Linked DNA regions of Homo sapiens: region 2 is linked to region 1. Evidence: promoter capture Hi-C in 16 types of primary human blood cells and fetal thymus (Javierre and others, 2016). All regions are on one chromosome and are shown on one strand. The core of a region is centred on a gene start or on the middle of the fragment in contact, and the rest is flanking DNA. Distances in the headings are between cores, read along the strand shown. Region 1 holds the start of ZNF326 (zinc finger protein 326). Region 2 has its middle 61 kb from the start of LRRC8B.

Evidence for each region. Contacts are between HindIII fragments. The CHiCAGO score rates a contact against its expected background, and 5 or more counts as called.
Region 2: a contact is called between a fragment that was not itself captured here and the fragment with the promoter of ZNF326 in region 1, in 3 of 17 cell types (naive CD8 T cells, naive CD4 T cells and total CD4 T cells). The highest score is 6.2, in naive CD8 T cells.

Annotation. Positions count from the first base shown.
Region 1 is chr1:89,993,475-89,996,897 of GRCh38, forward strand. It overlaps ZNF326 (zinc finger protein 326), which reads left to right and starts at 1,636. Exons shown (of 12, transcript NM_182976.4): 1 at 1,636-1,799. The coding sequence starts at 1,784. It also overlaps the pseudogene GEMIN8P4. RefSeq lists enhancers at 1,288-1,854, 1,855-2,420, 2,302-2,351 and a silencer at 1,442-2,081. The HindIII fragment of the contact is 7,808 bases long and covers 1-2,936 here.
Region 2 is chr1:89,461,972-89,465,383 of GRCh38, forward strand. No RefSeq gene overlaps it. Among named protein-coding and RNA genes, the nearest start is that of LRRC8B, 61 kb to the right of the region's middle. The HindIII fragment of the contact is 6,077 bases long and covers 1-3,412 here.

The DNA of each region.
Region 1 (3,423 bases), core at 386-2,885:
GTGAACGTGCCTGTACCTCAGTACAAAGTCCCCTTTCCCTGAGAAATGTACAGAAGGAGAGATGAAGAGCGCGTATCCAAAAGGAAGAGGAAGAGGCTGGGTGCCCTGTGCCCCGAGCTCAGAACTTCGGGGGGATGACCGGCCAGTAATTAGGCTGCTTTGGATCACAGTGCTTGTCAAAGCTCAGCTGCACGTTAGCCTCCATGGCCTGGATCTTGGCGGCGCTGTCCCAGTACAAACGCTTCATTTCGGCCTGGCGCCGCTCACCAGGCCTCTCAGCTGGGGCCTCTACCGACCGGCGGGTGTTGCAGTACAGGTCGTGTTCAGCGTTCACGTAGCTGTTCAGGCGCTCCGCATCCAGCTGTTGCCGCCGCAGTAGTTCTTCTCTGTGCCTCTCTGTCTCTGCAAAGTACTGGCGGAGCTCTTCGGTGATTTCCATATTGCTCAGGTCACATGCTACCTCTGCATCTGACTCGGTCTCCATCTCTTCCTCCTTGGATAAGGCTTGGTCTTCTCTTGTGGATGCCTGGATCCTACTGCTGCCATGTGGATGTTGCCCAGACCCTCTGAAATGTGAAGAACTGCAGGGGGAGTCCTGCTAGGCCACATGATGGTCATAGAAGGACTGAGGATACGCAGCCTGGTTATCGTAAGAGCTTTGGGGAAGAAGCGCAGGAAGGAAGAACCATGGAAGACTGAAACAGGATTCCACCGCCTTCCTGTAGGCATTGTGGTGGCTTTGCATCCAAGCCATTGCTTGATGATAATGTTGCCAGTATCTTGCATATACTGGATGAGAATACCAAGGCCTGGTAGCTTTTGATGTTGATGCCTTCACCACTGCCATCTCCGATTGTGAAAGTCCAAATGGGTGCCGAAACTTGTGGGCGCGCAGCTTGCAGATCCTGGGCGGTGGCCAAGCAGGCCATGTTTTAGAATTCTTTCCAGGCGGGTCGCATTGGCTCACGCCTGTGATCCTAACACTTTGGGAGGCGGAGACGGGGCTGGGGGTGGGGGGATCGCTTGAGTCCAGGAGTTGGAGACCTGCTTGGGCAACATGGCAAAACCCCCATCTCTATAAAAATAATTTAAAAATTTTTTAAAAGAATTATTATTTCCATTTTATTTCAGTGCTTTGTCCTTTAAGAAAATTTATTGACATAGCGATAATCAGACTCCATACGCTATTTTGTATCTTGCTTTTCAAATTTGCCACAGGCTTCTAGAAACGTCCCAGACTTCTGTGTCTCCATGGAGGAAACCCCGTAAGTACTTACAAATGTTATGATTAGTCATCCCTAGCCAATACTAAGCAAAAGGTAGGCATGCGGTTTTATTAGTTTGGGCAGGAAGAAGGCATTCCAACCGGCTTCTTTCGCTCTTGCCAGGTTCAAACATGGCGGGCCGCAGCCGGCCCTTCCCGTACACTCGGCTTGCTTTCCCACAACCCCCGCCAATCTTTAGCGCTCCTTTTTTACCTTCCTTCCCCGTCAGCGGCTCCAGAGGGTCAGCACCTCCGAGCGTGACAGCGGACCTGCTTCCCGCCCCCCACGCGAGGGCCCGCCCACCAGCCCGCGTCAGCCAATAGCAGGCCGCGCCGATGGGGCTGGTAGCGCCGGTCGGCCCCGCCTCCCCAGCCTCGCTGTGGCCTGCGGCTCCCGGGCTGGTAGCGCGCCGCTCTCGGTCGCGCGGAGTGATCGTGTGGAATCGCGGGTCGCGGACGCTCGCCGCCGGCCATAGCTCAGCCTAGCGCCGCCAAGGCCGACGGCCCTCAGCCTCTGCCATGGACTTCGAGGACGGTAAGCGCTGCCTCTGGCTGGTCGGCGCAGCTGGCAGGAGGCGGGGTGGCCTACGCAGGGGGTCTGTTTACCGTCTCAAGATGGCCGTGTGGGCTTTGTTCTGCGGGCCCGGAGGCCGCCCGCCCGCCCCGGGCCCAGCGCCCGGAGTCGGCCTCTTTGGGGACCCACGCGCCCCGATTCGGCCCGCTCGGCGCCCGCTGCCGGCGGAGACAAGAGAACTCGGTGTCCGGTAGGACGCGCCTAGAGCGCGAGAGCCTCCGGGCTGGAGCCCCAGACTCGCCTTGGCCCCTGGTAGTGGAAATTGCCCCGACGTCTCCAACTTCCCGGTCTCGGGCAAACGGGCGAGTGCGGCCTCACCCACCTAGTCTCGCATTCGCCCCACAGGGCAGCGACCCAGACCGTCCGTTTAGTTAATCCTCAGCCTCGGGTTACTTCTTGCCAGATAGAATTTTCAGAGGCTTGTTCACAGTGATGTTTCTGTTTGTCCCGGTTTAAGATGAGTTGAAAGGGTGTCTGTAAGTGATATGTATAGATAAATATCTATGCAAAATGGAAAGCAAGATGTTTCCTGGTTAGTAAACTGGGGTGTTTATCACCAAAAATTACCTGCTTATTAATCCCTAACTTGAAATATTTATGTGAACCAAAGCACTTTTCTTTGGATCGTGTGTAGGTAGGATTTAAGTTAATCAGAATTTTGGCACAGCAAGCATCAAATGTCCTTCACATTTAGACCTGTACACAGCCTTGTAAGTGTTTGACTTACGGATTAAATAAACTGTATTTTAGCAATACTTTTCAGTTGTCTCAGATACTAATTCTTTAAACCACTTTTACAGGGTCACAAAGTAATATTAATTTGGTCTTCACTTTTGTTTTCAAACCTTGCTTGGAATTGGTGTCAAGATAAAGTGGTATGTAGTGACAACATTAGGGAGACATGGGAAAGGACTTATGTGATTAAACTGGATTTAATCCTGAGTAACCAGGCATGCTTAAGTAAAACCAGTTCACTAAGTAGGCTGTAAACTTTTAACCCCACCAAAAAAATGATCTTTAAATGAGGTGTGATCTCAGCATATGTCTTACTCGATGAGCTTTTGATTTTTCATAACATTTCATGCAACAAAGAATTAAAGCTTTCATATCTAGGTACAGATTTGTGAAAGGGGACTGGAATAGCCCTCTTGTAGATACTTTTCAGTTACTTTGAAATAGTAAGTTCAGCTCTTAAGAGTAGCACACTCTCGTGGTTTTGTTTGTTTTGGTTGGACTTTAACTCATTTTGATGTAGATACCTTTAAACTATGAATATTTGGGCTGGGCACGATGGCTCACACCTGTAATCTCAGCACTTTGGGAGGCGGAGGCAGAAGAATCCCTTGAACCCGGGAGGCGAAGGTTGCAGTGAGCCGAGATCGTGCCATTGCACTCTAGCCTGGGCAACAAGAGCCAAACTTCGTCTGAAAAAAAAAAAACAAAAAACCAACAACAAAACAAAAAACTATGAATATTTGAAGTGGCCAGAGTTGGGAGTGAAAATAAAAAATATATTATTGTATTTTCATGCTGTAGTTTGATGATAATGCCAACACCCAAGGTATAGCAGAGGCTAACAAAGTGG
Region 2 (3,412 bases), core at 260-2,759, 530 kb before region 1:
GAAGGTGCTCCCTGCACTAATCTGCTGCTGTTATCCCATTAGCAAATGTTAGCTAAGCATTTACTCTGTGCTGGGTGTTGTGCTGCATGTTAGGAAGTCAAACAAGTAATACATGATCTCTTCCTTTAAAAAGGTTCCAGGTAACTAGGAAGTGACTAGAAGTTATTAAGCTCCACAGGTAACTTTCTAGGAATTTCGCCATAAGCAAGCAGTGTGTGTCTAAAATCTGCTGCAAAGTGTTATCATTCTCTTAATCCATGGTTGACACATGCATTCTTATCACCATTAAAACATTTTCAAAATGGCTGTTACCCCAACACACACTTTTACAGTTTTGTTAGTCCTTTTGCCCCCAGTGACTCTGTGGCCAGCCCTAGGCAGCACGGTTTTGTAGAGCATGCCCCAAATTCTGGGCTGAACTCAGCGTGACCCTTGCCTCATTTCTCCCATTGGCTCTTTCCAACTCCAGCATGCTTTGGATAGTTCAGTCCACACCTGGCAGAGACTAAGTACCGACTAATTGTTGACCTAAGATTTTTTCCCCCCAAGTTTAAGTTGAATCACTTTAAGTAAAATTTAACCAAACCAACCATCATATTCCTTAGTGTTGAACTGCTACAGTAATCAACTGATGCTTCTTCTATATTTACTAATTTCACATAATTGAGCATCTTCTGCAACTGGTTACTTTTCAGAAAGGCCAAATGAGACCATATAGGAAAGAATCTTTTTTATCTTGGGTGGGAAAGATCTTTTTAAGAAGACTCCAAAACAATTACACATCATAGAGGGAAAATCGTTGAATTTCTTTTCATTAAGGGAACCCTCAAATCCATAAAATACAGATGACTTGGCAAAGCTAGTTACAGCACCTAAAATTGATGTAATATCTACATCTGGGTATATGTAGAATATATAACATTATAATATATATATACACATATATATGTGATAAAGTTAGCAAAAGCCTGAGAGGTTTCAACAAGAAATTTTAAATGTATTAACCCAATAAAGAAGTAATATCTAGAACATTCAAGACATACCAACAAATTAACAAGCAACTAAAACAAAAAGCTAGTTAAGCCAATAATGAGCAAATAATTTATATCCATATAAATTATGCATACTATTTGTATCCATAGGATGGAAAAACCTGAAAACTAGTAAATATATAGTGCTCAACCCTACTAGTGTTAAAAAATTAAAAAATAAATCTGATACCACTTTGTAACTATCACCTGTAAAAAAAAAAAAAATCAGAGTCAGAAAACACTAAATGTCAGCAAACCAATGCTAAACAAGAACATTTGTTCTTCTGGTAGAAGAAGAAATGGTATAGTCTTTCTAGAGAGCAATCTGGCAATACTTGTACCATAAGCCTTCTTCCAACTGCTGAATGTATATCCCAGAGCAACTCTTTCCAACTTCTCTACAGGGACATGTAAATGCATAGGCATCTATGGCAGGGGATACTGAAGCACCCTAGATGACCATAGCCAGAGAGGAAAACTAACATGCTGGATGGACAAATCTTGAACAACACAAAAGTGAGTGGAAAAAAATAAGAAACATTAAATGTATTTTACATCCCATTTAATTAGAAACACACACGTATAAAATAATGCTATATGATTTTATATAAAATATGTACATTCAAAGACACATAGCAAGTGTGTTAAACAGGACTTATTGAAAAGGCAGGGGAAGAAATGGGAATGATAACTGGAGGGGAAAGATAAAAATATTAAAATTAAGGTAACAGTAAACAAAACTGGTCCCTTGCACAGATAAATATTGAGAAGTACACTGAGTTAGAAGCAAGGCTCAGCTTCAGTTGTGATAGCCTCATTTACTGAGACCTTGATCTGTACTAGTTATTGTACTAATCGCTTCACATATGTTATTTTAATCCTCACACAAAAACACGCACAGACATATAGAACTCATATTATTATTCCCATTTTACAGATGAAGAAGCAGAAACTCAGAGAAATTATATTTTTTGCCTAAGGTCAAACAGCTAGTAAGTGGTATAGCTGGGGTTTTAATGCAGGTCTACATGACTCTGAATCTCATACACTATATTATCTGCTATCTGTTCATATATTCAAGAAATAAGTGAAGGTACCAAAAATAAGTTCATTCTTTCTGACCGCATTCCCCAATCATCCATCATTGACCACTGTGGTTTCTTTGGTAGGCTGAATGATGCCCCTTAGATGTGCCCACATCCTGACCTCAAAAACCTCTGAATGTTTCCTTGTATGGTAAAAGAAACTTTGCAGGTGTGATCCAGTCAAGGATCTTGAGATGAGGGGCTTCTCCTACATTACTCAAGGAAGCACAATAAAGTCAAAAGGGTATTTACACGAAAGACATTGGAGAAGTCAGAGAGGAGTAGGAGACATGATGATGATGGAAGCAAAAGGTGGAAGTGATCCCAGGAAGGGGCCATGACCAAGGAGTGCAGGGGCCTCTAAGGGCTGAAAACGGCGAGGAAACTGATTTTTCCCTAGAGACTCCAGAAGAATCCAATGCCTTGATTTTAGCCCCATGAGACCCATTTTGGACTTCTGACCACCCTCCAGAATTGTAAGAGTTTATATTGTGTTCTTTAAACCACTAAATTTGTGGTAATTTGTTACAGTGGCAACAGGAAACTAATACACTTAGAAATCATTCAGATTCACTTCAAGATATTTCAAGCTGTCATAGGAGTAGTAGTTACATTTCCAACAGCGAACAATAGCTAAGTAATGCCAAATCCAGAACTAGAATCCAGATCTCTTGACCGCCTCAGTGCTAGGCTCTTTCCACTACACATAGCTGTCAACAAGTATAAGTCTCTGAAGTAATAGCTATAGAGAATTTAAAATCAAGTAAAATGTAGACATTAAAAGTGGACACCTTGTTTCCAAGGGAGCACTGTGGTTCTGTTACAGAGAATACCCCAAGATATACAAAGAAATCTTTCTGCACTTAAACTTCTATACTGGCTATTTGTGATGTAGAACAATTCAGGTTTGATTCACCTGCACTAGCAATGCTATCTACATATACGAATGTGTTCTTAATACAAATCACTTTTACAGGGCAAGGACAATTTTTAAAATGTATTATTGAATTTTGAAAATGTTAATAATGTTAAAAAAAATTACTGAATTTGAAATCAGAATGCAGTTCAACTCTCAACTCTGCCATTAGCTCTATGACCTGAAAAAGTCAGTTCACCTCTCTAGGTCAGATTACTTATCCATGGAATGGCCCGCATAGTCCATTACAGATCTCCTGTGCTAGACTAATGCAGGCAGTGCTCTCCTAAGGAGATGGTGCTGTCCCAATACAGACACTGGGCTGATTCTAGAAAGAGAAGCCTTGACATTCACCAAGTGCCTCCTGTGAGCTGTGCACC